2 separate regions of the Homo sapiens genome follow, and region 2 is linked to region 1. The links are contacts of gene promoters, found by promoter capture Hi-C in human tissues and cell types (Jung and others, 2019). All regions are on one chromosome and are shown on one strand. Each heading gives the region's core, a stretch centred on a gene start or on the middle of the fragment in contact. The rest is flanking DNA. Distances are from core to core; before and after follow the strand shown.

What was found. The method cuts DNA at HindIII sites, captures the fragments that hold promoters and counts their contacts. A contact is called where the count stands out against the background at its distance.
Region 2: a contact is called between a fragment that was not itself captured here and the fragment with the promoter of HLF in region 1, in 2 of the 25 tissues and cell types used here (dorsolateral prefrontal cortex and hippocampus).

What each region holds. Positions count from the first base shown.
Region 1 is chr17:55,263,071-55,269,198 of GRCh38, reverse strand. It overlaps HLF (HLF transcription factor, PAR bZIP family member), which reads right to left and starts at 4,239. Exons shown (of 4, transcript NM_002126.5): 1 at 3,600-4,239; 2 at 1,113-1,448. The coding sequence starts at 3,714. RefSeq lists a silencer at 4,116-4,435. The HindIII fragment of the contact is 14,198 bases long and covers 1-5,427 here.
Region 2 is chr17:55,350,111-55,356,973 of GRCh38, reverse strand. No RefSeq gene overlaps it. Among named protein-coding and RNA genes, the nearest start is that of MMD, 68 kb to the left of the region's middle. The HindIII fragment of the contact is 3,744 bases long and covers 1-3,217 here.

The DNA.
Region 1 (6,128 bases), core at 2,990-5,489:
GGGGTATTCTCTTCCTCCTTTACATCATTTCCTTCCATTTAAATCTTGCTCCATGTGCCACAGAAATTTCTACAAGAGTCGAGGACACGGAGTTCAGTAACAATCTCTAGCACAAGTTTCGCATTGTCCTGCTTTCTGTCTTCCCCCACAGCTAAGGCCCTCAGCTCTGTGACCTTCCGGATGATTTATCTGGCTGAATCTTTGTTCCTGGTTACCTGTGCACATGAAATCGTCTTTCTTCCTGTTCATTTGGTACTACAGGGTGCTAAAGGCATGAATTCAAAGCTCCTTCAATCTGTGTTTATATCTGAGCATTAGCAGTGGGTTTTGAAGTACTGGTCATTTCAGGTGATATTTTTGTGTACTATTTCAAGATCATTTACAGCTGACCTTGCAGCCTTGTGGGCTTTGATACAGGTGGACTGAGTGTGATAGACAGATGAAAATGAAAAAAAAAAAAAGATAAGAACAGTTGGGTTTATGGGAATAGCAACGAGAGAGATGGAGTCTGGTCCTGAAGAAGGCTCAGAAACACAATATGAGAGCCTGCTTTTAGATTCTACTTCTCAGCTAATGACAAAACAAGATGAAAAGGATGGAAAAAAAAATACCTGCCCCATATCCCTACTCACATTTTTTTTCCTTCAGGACAGACAAGAGTGAATATAGGTAAACCAAACCCTATTGAGAGTCTACCTGTTATCTACGTGTTTAGGGAATGAGGAAAAGAGATACAAGATGCGATGGAGGCTTAAATTATCCAAATCATTAACTGTAAGTTATTTCTTAAACTGCAGCCCTTGGATCAGCTGCATTAGAATCCCATGGGGGAGCTGGTTAAAATGCATATTCCTGGGCCCTCATTCCAGACTTGCAAAATCAGAATTTCTAGGGGTAGATACAAAGAGTCTGTATTTACCGGACTCTCCAGATGAGTGATATGGATGCTCATTAAAGTGGGAGAGCCTCTGCCAGGAGTGGAGCAGAAGAAGGTACCTCTCTTAGGATCTTTGCTAAAACCTGAGTGTTAAGATGTTTATGCTAACTCTACCTTGCCTGTCCCATTCACCCTCCTCCTCCCTTTCTGAAGGGAGAATCTTCAGGGCACTTACCTGGTCTGATGGGGCTCTGCATACAGTTCGGAGATGGGATGCCAGGGTGAAGGGGTGCAGAGGCCCGGCTGCTGAGGTCCATGACCGAGGGGGCAGCCGAGGAAGCTGGCTGCAGCCCAGGAGGGTGAGGGCTGTGGTCATGCTGAGATGGGCTGGGGGGAATGCCATTTTCTGACAAAAACTCCTCCAGGTCCATGTATTCCAACTGGAAAGTATCTCCGTCATAGGGAAGGGTTTTGTCCCATAAGGTAGGCCCCAGGAATGCCGACTGGGGGACCGTCGGGCTGTTACTCTCATCATCCAGCTTCTTTTCCTTGTCTTTATCTTTACTAAATGCTGCAGAAGAAGGGAAAGCTGGACTTAAAAAAAAAGAAAGAAAAGAAAAACAATACCGCTCTTTTATCACTTTTCCTGGCCTGTTATAAGACTATTTCTCACGAATGGCAGGGTCCTTCTCTGGCTGCTGTCTTTTGTAGATCTAGAGTTAAAAGTTCAGGCAGGACGTGGATCTCTGCCTGTTTTTCAACATCTTCCTATTTACTTTGGAAAGAAGGCACTAGTCCTTGGGGCAGGGCTACAGGCTGATCTAGGATAAAAACCAGAGAACAGTCTCAGCACATTATTTGAGAAGAGTAATAACTTAAACCTAAAATAGGAATATAACATCTGTGATTATATACAACTGCTGTCATTTTTAAGAAAACAACAGCCAATAACCAGGCTTGAATTATCTTCCAGGAATTCATCACAGCAGCAATAGGAGGTCATTCAGACTTACAAAGCCAGTGAGTTAGTGGTCTTAATTTTGGTAAAGCAGGGACCTTCCACCCTTCTTTAACATCATGTTTAGAGTACCTACTGGATACCTGGTTCTTTCCATATATTATCTCAAAAATCTCACAATAAACTTGCAAAATAACAATTACCTCCATTTACAACAAAGACTCGGAGGCTCTGAGACTTGAGGGAACTTGACCAATGCCTCATGTTGGCAGAGAATGAGAACTTTCTGAGCTCACATGTGTTTGCTTCTAAAGCCACTGGGGCACACTGATTTTTACAAAAGGAGTTTAAAAAAATACAAAGTGTTTTCTTCCTTCTCTTCTCCAAACATTTGAGTATGATCCAATTTACAAAGAGTATGCATTTACAAAACCTTTCAAAAGCAGAGCTATTGGAAAAGGTGAGTTATTCTATACATTTATGTTGGAAGTATGCAGCTATTTGCTACCTGGAAGTACTGCTCGCCCATTAGGTCTTTAACAAGCATTCCGGATCTTGCCAATTCTAGTATTCAGTCGTGGGTGGAATCTGGGATTAAGGAATTTGCTTCTGAGTTTCATCTTCAGAGAAACACAGCCTCCACTGCCATCCATTCTAACCCTCTACCATCTCATCTGAAAATCTGACTTAAAACACCCACAGATGCAAAAGCCTGCAGGCAGCCCCTTCCTCCCAAATGCTCTTCCTTAAAGGATAGTTAGGGAGGGGTCCCTGGCTATCATCTGCAGATTGCAAACTCTTGCAATGCAACAGGTTGTCCTCTCCTAGAAAAGAAGGTGCAAGTACTCCCAAGCTATTTGTAGCCAAATAACCTTTCAGAACTTTACACTGTGAGCCGCACGGTTCGCATTTGCTACTGTGATACCGAAGGCATGAAATCGCATCAACCCAAATCCGTGGCATCACTTAGCCGGGTTTGGGGCCTCATCACACGTACCCCTCCTCTACTGCTAAGGCCAAGGTTGTCTTGGGAAGGTTTGGGACTTACCAAGAAAGGGCTCAAGCCAGAGGAGGCTCCTGCGCGGTTACACGTGAGCCTGCTCCGCTCTCCCCTCCCACCAGAAAAAGTGCACCGGGAAAGTGTCAACGCTGGAGGCGTGCACGGCTTCCCGCCGAGAGACCACTCCCCCCACCGGCCCCAGCCCCCACCCCGCTTTCTCAGCTACCCTTCACCAGAAGAAAACGAGTCTTCTCTCACACCTCGTGAGTTCCAAATACTAACCAGTAACAGAAGCTGTAACACAACCCCAAAACCCAGGCTACGCAGTGAAACCCCCTCCCTCAAGCCGACCCCCGCCCCCTGCCCCGCACAGAACCAGGCCCCAGGGTTTCTCCTCCCCAGCCCGGGAGGCTCTGCCCTCCGCAGGCGGGCTCGCTCTGCGTGCGGGTGTGCCTCGTTCTAGGGAACGATCCTGACCTGTCAAGTTACACCTCCCACCCGCGCCGCAGGAGCGGGACCCAGGGAGGCCGGGTGCCCGAAGCTCTTTTAAATGTAGCTCAGGAGGGGTCCCTCCCCTTTCATGGAGGAGGAGGAAGGGGAGGAAGGGTGCTGGGTGAGCTCCTCAATTTCATCAGCGCGGGGCCGGGGCGCCGCGGGACAGGGCGGGAGCGGGGTTGGGGGATGCTCCAGCGGGCGTGCCCGGCCGCGGAGGGGGACCCCCGGAGCGTCGTCCCTTCCCGGAGCGGGGCCGCGGCAGCGCTCACCGTCTTCGTGGTGAAGGGGGAGCTTCAGCGGGTTCTCCAGCAGGGACCTGAGCACGCCGTAGGGAGGCGGGATAAAGGTGGGATTCAGGGGGAGCGGTCGGGACATTTTCTCCATCGCGATGCACTCAAATTTTTTCCCCTTAAAAAAAGAAATAAGAAAGAAACAACCGCCCCCTAAAATGTTGCTGAGCTTTTCCTCCGTCCTTTGCCAAAAGTACTCGCTCTCAAGGCGGTGGAGAAAAGGGAAGAAAAAAATTACTTATATCTTTATAAATACATCTGCATAAAAATATATATTAAAAAAAAACTTTCGGGTTTCCAGTGCAGACGGTCCCAGGAGAGCGCGCCAAGTGCCCGCGGGCTCCCCGGCGACGTGCAGGATGCTCTCACCTGCCTCGAACCCCTCGTTTTGCAAAATGTTCAAAATTGAAAAAAAGAAAGAAAAAAAAATGTCGACGGCTGCAGAAGGGCAGAAGACACCGCGCCGACCCCAGCCCCTAGTGCCAGCACCGGAGGCGGTGCGCCGTCCCACCCCACCCCCCTCCCCGCGCCGGCGGCCGCTGCTCCCCAGCGCTCCGCGGCCCCGCAGCGCCGGGCTCAGCGCATCCGGCCGCCCATGTGCCGCGGCCCTGACAAGAGTGACGTCAGGGCCCGCACCTCGCGCCCATAGGCGTGCGGGGGCGGGGCCACGCGCGGCACCGCCCGCCTGGCCCGCTCGCCCCGCCGCCGCGTGTTTAGCGTCGCCGCTCGCGCCGATTTTCGGGGACCTTGCAGCACTGGCTGGTTGCAGGGGAGCAGGTGCCAGATTCCCTGGGCCATCAACTTAGGCTTAGATTTTTTTTTTTTTTTTTGGTCTGGGTGGGAAGAGGAATGAGAAATTTATATCCATAGTTTTCAAGCTGGGAATAACCTGAGGAGTTTTAAAAAAATCGCGATACCCAGGCCGCATCCCAGATCAATTAGATCAGAACCTCTGCGGTGCTATCAGGGCGTCCATAATTTTTAAAGCTCCCCAGGTGGTTCCAAAGAGTAGCCAAGTTTGAGATGATTGGTTTAGATCGGATGGAAGGTAACGACCCTTCTCAATATTTCTCCTGGCCCCGGCCAAGCTTAGCGTCTTCTTTCTTGCCCAGTTTCCACCACCACCAAAAAATAACTACTTCCTATAAGTCCGAATGGGATGCAAAAAGCAGAGCGGGAAGCGGAGGACTGAGCTGCTGGGCACTGTTTCCCACGCTGCAGAGAGGTGTTAACGGTGGGGGGAGAGGGGGGGTAGACATTTGCCTGAAACGGAAAGAGGCGGGAGAGACACAGACACACTGAACGGGATTTTAGGAATATTTACTCTGGGTGAATACAGGTGATTGCGCTTGGGTCAAGTTATTAGGTTTGCACGGTGATTAAAATAATTTTGTAAAGTATCCCCTAAGGGGGCTTCGGCTTTCCTTGCTGTTACAGCAGCTGCAGCGTCTCCCTCTGCCAGTTTGACCTCGTGGCACCCACGGTCCCCGAGATCTGCGTGCGACCCCCTGTGTGATAACTCCCTTCCCGCCTGGGGTGGTGCGGGCGCTGGCGTGCAGCCGCGACGCCCCCTGCAGAGCTCCGCGGGGGGCCAGGCAGGTTCTTCCCCTCCCTCCTTACCTCTCCTTACTAAGACCCTAGTCTTCGATCTGGGGAAGGGGCTGCAAGAACGAATGGGCACAAATGAAAGAAAACCGTTTTTCAGTGGGACGTAAAGGCCTTTGTGACCCCAGGCTGAGTCGCTGGGGAAGGATGTGGTGGTGTCTTGATGGGGTTTACTTCCCCAGGAGAGGGTTGTAAGAGAGGAGGCGCCTGAAACCCCAGAGATCAGGAGCGGCGGCGCAGCGGGGTTCAGAGTTCCCTGGCAGGGTGATTCCGGCAAGTGCCTTTCTGCCCTGAGCTGTAGGTTCTTCATAAAAGGACACGTAATCTAGTGACCTCTACTTCCTCACTCTAAAATTATGGCAAAAGGGTAAGGCAACATTCTAAGTGAGATGTTGTTGCAGTGTTTCAGGTTTCAGACGAATTCCAGAAACAGCAAACTTTTAGTTAATGCCACATGCATTTATTGAGCACCACGGTATGTATGCCAGCGACTATGCGGGGGCTAGTGAAAAAAGATGAATAAAACATAATTTTAACCTTCAAGAACTCATCGTTTAGGGTTTGGCATATAAGCAAATAATATAAAATAGGCTTAAAAGAACAAAAATGGATAGATGGAGGTGACAGGGGCACTTACATTATTAGGAAAGGGATTCTAGAGAAGGTGCCTGAGCTGGGCGTGGAGGTAATAGTCTCTCGTGAACGGTCTGAATCCATCAATTATATTATATTGTTTTTTTAAAAAATAAAAAAGGGACCTCATCTCCGCTATCCTTTTGGAGACAGAGGCTATTTCCCTGTCTTGAGTTCCTTACATCCCTGTAAGTCCATAAACTGGCAGGACTGAGAGCATCCTCTCAGCCTGGTTAGAAATCTGTTAGATTGCAGATTCCAGGTGCATGA
Region 2 (6,863 bases), core at 96-2,595, 91 kb before region 1:
CTAAAGGATGGCTGTCATGTTCATCTTGGTAACCCTGCATGATGACAGATTGCCACAAGGGGGCACCAAGAACCATGTATAATGATGAAGGACTAGAGGGATTCAGTTAGGTCGCTCTAGCAGTTACATTTGTAGGCTCACGTTTACATTTGTAAGCCAGCCAGAGGTAGGTATTTTCCCAGAAAACAAAAGAAAGAGGTTGAAGGCATGTTATAAACATTGCCATACCATTTCCTACAGAAGATGGAAATTCAGGATCCTTCCTAAACATCACCAAGCCATTTCCCCAACTTGGAAGCTTAGCTAAGCAAAAGGAACTATGCTGTGAAAGGGGGAGTGTCTCTTGATTTGCAAGGTACTTTCCTGTGTACAAGGCACTGTTCCATGAGTTGAGGGGATTCAAAGGCTCCCTTAAGGAGCAATCAACTGTAGTAAGTTGGCATTTACTTATTGAGTGTCTGCCATGTGCTAAGGATTCTCAATAGCTTAAGGCATCATTATGCCATTCCTTTTGTTTTTATTGAAGAGTTCCCCAGAGGCTTGGCTGAGGATTTAGCCCATGTCCAGAGGATGATAAAAAGTCAACAGACAATCTGGAGCAGGGAGAGGACAACTTAATGAAGAATGAATTTAGCATGATTGATTGATTGATTTTTATTTTATTTTATTTTTTTTTGAGACAAGGTCTCACTCTGTCACCCAGGCTGGAGTGCAGTCCTGCGATCTCAGCTCACAGCAACCTGTCTCCCAGGTTCGATAAATTCTTCTGCCTCAGCCACCTGAATAGCTGGCATTACAGGAACACACCACCACACCTGGCTAATTTTTACATTTTTAGTAGAGACGGGGTTTTGCCACGTTGACTAAGCTGGTCTCGAACTCCTGACCTCAAGTGATCCACCTGCCTCGGCCTCCCAAAGTGCTAGGATTACAGGTATGAGCCACTGCGGCCAGCCAGAATGAATTTAGCTCGATTTATTTAGAGTGGAGTGCAGGAAAGAAGAGCGTCAAAGGCCAGGGATGCCCATGGCAATGTTGAAACAGATTGATGTGAAGTCAAACACTATTAAAGCAGAAATTCCTAATATAATTAAATTTTAAGAGAAATCACAATAGTTAACAGAAATAAAAATGAAGCTGTTGTTCTGGCTGAAACAAGAGTAGCAAGCCTGGGTCTCCATCTACTAAGCTGCTTTCTCACCTTCTAACAGTCCAGAAAATGGTAGTTTTTGAAAACGGAATAGAATGTTGGAAGAATCTTGGGTGCATCTCTGTGTAATACAGTTTGAAACCCACTCTAATGGTTCAAACAGTAAGGTGAATGGATGAAGACCCAGGATAAAGGATGGTTGTGAGGATGGAGAAAATGAGGCAGAAGGATGATCCAACGCCTTCACCCCAGCTGCCTCAGGGCACGCTCGGCTCAGTCACAGCTGCATCCTTTTCACTTTGCATCCTTCTTTGCAGTATTTCTCCTGTTTTTCTTCTCATTCTGTCCATTGCTTCATGCTAGTCTAGGATCAGGGTCTGAGCCCAATTTGTGGCATTAATCGTGTTTCTTGTCTTTAGTTATAATTCATATTTGCCTCTCCCCTCCTGGAAATAACCCAGTCTTCTCATGGACCTGGGAAGCCACTGTGTTGTTAGGATTTTTTAGCTTTTGTGAAAATGAGAAAAAGAAAGAATGAAGAGCATCTAGCAACTGATTATATATATCAGTTTGAAATACATATATGTATGTTTATACACACCTGCACGCGTGTGCACACACACACACACACACACACACACATTACTTGCCTGGGATTAAATAGCTAACTAGGAAGTGGCAGAGCCAGGGCTTAAACTGACATCTGTCTGACTCCAAAGCTCTTATGCTTGGTATTTATGGATTCTAAGCTTCTTTGCCTGTTTTCCAGACCATCCATATTTGAGGCCCCTCTAACAATCCTATCCTATTTCACATTTCTAGTCAATAGACATCTACCAACTTGAATGCAGTTAGGAAGCCTTTTGTACACAGCATTATTGTACATTCTCAGGTCAATATCTTAGTTTGAGGATTACACTTTATTCCATTAAATTCAGCAAATATTTATTGGGTGATTACTGTCTATCAGGTACTGAATAATAGAAAAAAATACAGAGAGAGATTAACTGATTTCAAAGCACTTTCATACTTTATCTCATTGAATCTGCATAGAAACTTCATAAAGTAGTTATGGCAGGTAAAATTATCCCAATATTCCAGATAAGCAAACTAAGGTTCAGACAGTTTGACTGTCTAATGTCACACAAATCTTACCAATTCACCAAGGTCCAGCTAAGAATCTCCTGCACTAAGTCTTCTTTCAAGAAGTTATGGCAGTGATGTGGCTCTATAGTTAGCAGCTTCCTGATTTGGTTTCTGGCAGTAACATCAGCAGCTCTCCTAAGCAGAGTGATCTTAGGGGCTGGGAGCTGTTCTTAGAAACTTAACTAGGAACCTGATCCTTGGACCTTCCCAACCATTAGTAATTCATTTAATACCTGGGAATAATTTCTTAGTTTTTAAAACCGTCTGCAGTGGTTTCTAAGGTCTATAATTGGACCCTAAATGGTAAAATTACTAGCTAAAAATAATGAAGAAAAAAAGAAATAAAAATAACCATTATCAAGGTCATTCTTCCCTCATTCAGAAAAAAAAGAACTGCAGGAGAGGAAAGATAGCTGTGTAGTTAAATACCATTTCTGCTCAGTGACTTGCAGAAAAGTGTTGACTTTGTATCCTGTAATCTACCCTCCTCATCCAGTTTCTATCTAGGGTATCTCTGATAGAGAACCTTTTGCACAATCCCAAGAGCAGGCACCTCTTTCATTTATAGGCAATCACATATTAAGCCAAAATGTGTCTCCCTGTCACTTGTACCCACGGGTACTACCTATCTCCATCTTTGAGAGCTAGATAAAATTGCACTTCTTTTTATAGAAGCCCTTTCAAAAATATTTTTGACCCCTATCAGACCAGCTAAAGTTTTTCTTTCCAACCGGGTATGGTGGCTCACATCTGTAACCTGAGCACTTTGGGTGTGCATGATATATCTTTTTCTATCTTTTTACTTTCAATTTGTTTATGTCTTTGAATCTGCAGTTTGCCTCTTGCAGACAGCATGTAGTTGGATCCTGTGATTTTTAGTTTTTTTAAATTCATTCTGCCAATCTCTGCCTTTTGATTGGAGTGTTTAATCTACTTATATTTAATATAATTACTGATAAGGTAGAATTTACTTAGGCCATTTTGCTATTTGTTTTCTATACAGCCTATCTTTTTTATTTTTCTGTTCTTCAATTGTTGCCTTGTTTTGTGTTACACAGATATTTTCTAGTGTACCATTTATATTTCCCATGTCATGTCTTATACTATATATATTTTTAGTTATTTTCTTAGTGGCTGCTCTGGAGATTACATTCAACACTTTAATTTTTAACAATCTAATTTGGATTAATCCCAATTTAATTTCAATAGTATACAAAAAACTGTGTCTACAGATCTCCATTTTCTCCCCCCTCCTTTGTGCTATTACTGTTATAATTATACATTATAAATCCATCAACACAGTTTTATAGTCATTGTTTTATAGAGATGTCTTATAAATCACATAGAAAAAGAAAAGAATTACAAACAAAAGTACATTCATACTACATTTTATATTTATCTATGTAGTTACTTTTACTCATGTTCCTTATTTTTTCTTCATGAGTATTTGAGCAAGTCTTCTTTCCTGTCAGCCTGAAGGACTCTTGGTAGTATTTCTTACAGGGCAGGTCTGCTGGTAATACATTCTTTTTTTTTTTTTTTTTTTGAAAAACCTGTCAATGTGTGGTTTTCTCGTTTATTTTTGAAGGATAGTGTTTTTGGTGAATACAGAATTCATTTTTTTTTTTTTTTTTTAAGAGACAGGATTTCACGTCATTGCCAAGGCTGGAGTGCAGCATCATGATCATAGCTCCTTGTAAACTTGAATCACTTCCTGGGCTGAAGTGATTCTCCTGCCCCAGTTTCCCAAGTAGCTTAGGACTATGGGCATGCATCACCACCCCTGGCTAATTAAAAAAAGAAGAATAGACATAGGGCCTCACTATGTTTTCCAGGCTAGTCTTGAGCTCCTGGCCTCAAACAATCCTCTTGAGGCCTCTTTTTCTTTCTGTACTCTGAATAAGGCCTCCATGGTTCCTGATGAGAAATCAGTTGTTAATATTATTGAAGATCACTTGTACATAATGAGTTGCTTCTCTTTTGCTGCTTTCAAGATTCTCCGTCTTTGGCATTTGACAGTTTGATTTTAATGTGTCTAGGTGTAGCTCTCTTACATTTATCCTACTTAGAGTTTATTGAGCTTCCTAGATGTGCAGATAAATGTTTTTCATCAAATCTGGGAAGTTTTTGGCCATTATTTCCTCAGATATTCTTTCTTCCCCCTTTTTCTCTTGTTTCTTCTGGAACTATCATTATGTGTATGTTGGTGAGCTTGATGGTGTCTCACAGGTCTCTGAAGCTTTGTTTTTCTCAATTCTTTTACTTTCTGTTCTCAGACTGGATAATTGCAAGCAGCCCATCTTCAAATTCATTGATTCGTTCTTTCCGCTCACTCAAGTCTGCCATTGAATTTCTCATTTCAGCTATTGTACTTTTCAACTCTAGAGCCTCTATTTTATTACCTTCTTATAAATTCTATAGCTTTATTAATATTCTACATTTGGTGAAGCATGTTCTCATTTAAAATAATACTTTGATTTTATTTATATTTATTTATTTATTTGAGACAGGATCTCACTCTGTTACCCAGGCTGGTGTGCAGTGGTGAGATCATAACTCATTGCAGTGTTGACCTCCTAGGCTCAAATGACCCTTCCATCTCAGCCTCAACCAGTAGCTGGGACCACAGGTGTGCACCATCACGCCTGGCTAATTTTTGTTTTTGTTTTTTTAGAGACACGGTCTTGCTATGTTGCCCAGGCTGGTCTCAAACTGCTGAGCTCAAGTGATCCTCCTGCCTTGGCCTCCCAAAGTGCTGGGATTACAGGCACTAGCCACCATGACTGGCCTTTATTTTATTCTTTACACCTGGTTTTCTTTAGGTCTGTAAGCATATTGATAGTAGTTGATTTAAATCCTTTGTCTAGTAAATCTAACATCTGGGTTTCCTCAGAGAAAGTTTCCATTAAGTACCTTTTTCTCTGTATATGGGCCATGCTGTCCTTTCCTTCCATGTCTCATAATTTTTTATTGAAGACTGGATATTTTAAATGATATAATGTGGCAACCCTGGAAATCAGATTCCTTTCTTCTCCAGAGCTTGTTATTGTTGCTGTTTGTTTTTGTTGTTGTATTGTTTGCTTATATCGTGACTTTTATAAATTAACTCTGTGAAGTCTCCACTTAGTTAGTTTAGTGGCTAGTAATGATTGGACACAAATTTCCCTAAGTGCCTGGCATTAATAAGTTTCTTAGCTTTTGCCAAAGGGCTCTCTCTATGTGTTGCAATGTGTATTCAGTGCTCTGGCAGGCAGTCTATAATGCTGTCTTAGCCTTCACTTCCTATTTCTGCAAAGCCTCAAGGTCCACCAAAGGCAAGAGATTAGGGCCTTCTCAGATCTTTCCTGGGCATAAACCTGAACATGTGTATGGCCTTCTAGATTCCCAGAAATACCCTGGAACTTTTAAAAGTCCTTTGTGGGCAGTTTATGTGTCAGGTTTTCCTTTAAAGACTTCTGTCAGCCTCTTGTTTTTCCCAAATGTTTTCTCTGCTTCAGGCAGATGTAATGTTTAACAATTACCGGTGATTGTTGATTTCAACAAACGTTCCAGGCCATTTACATTGAGCCAGCTCTGAGTCTGGTTACATAAAGACAAGCTCTGAGAGTAGAGGTTTCCAGGGAGTTACCAGACAGGTCAAATAGTGACAATTCTCTAAAGATGAGGCTTTTAGGGTGCTCCAAACATGTTCTGCTTTCTCTAGTGGCTGCTAGGATGCTGATTTTCACCACTACCATGGTTGTGAGGCTGCTGGTTTTCAAGGCTCTTGTGATGCTGAGGAGAGGGGGATGGGAGTAGGACAAGTTAAAATGCCACAGGGCTCTTTGTTCTTATTGAGATTCAATCATTTTCCCTGAATAATTACTCCTTGTATTGTTGCAAATCTTTGGTTAATTTCCAGAGTTCTGAGAAGTTGATTATAACAATTTTTGGCCAATGTCTCATTGCTTTTATGGAGAAACAGATTTTGCAGAGGTTCTTACTCTGCCACTGTGAATGTCAGAACCCTCAGTTGCAGTATTTTCTAAGTAACCACATCACCTTGCTCACTCATACTTCACTTGTAGTCACCAGAATCCCTGAGTTTTTTGTTATCAACCACTGGTTACTCCTTCTTGTGGTTGATTGTTTTAAGTAGGTTTAAGACATTTCATTTTTGCTAACTAAATTTCATTTTCTTAATTTTTGTTATAGTTCCAGGATAAATTATTTTGAATCCTGACATCAATAAGATTTTTTTTTAAGTTTCTTTTAAGTCATAGATAACATTACTGGTCAAATCAGTGCATAGATCAGCTTTTTGGGTTTATTTATTTATTTATTTATTTATTTATTTATTTTAAGTCAGAATCTTGCTCTTTCACTCAGGTGGGATTGCAGTGGTGTGATCTTGGCTCACTGCAGTCTCTGCCTCCCAGGCTCAAGTGATTCTTGTGCCTCAGCCTCCGAAGTAGCTAAGACTACGGGCTCACACTACCGTTCCCAGCTAATTTTTGTATTTTTAGTAGAGACAGGGTTTTACCATGTTGGCCAGGCTGATCTCGAATTCCTCCTCTACTGGATATCC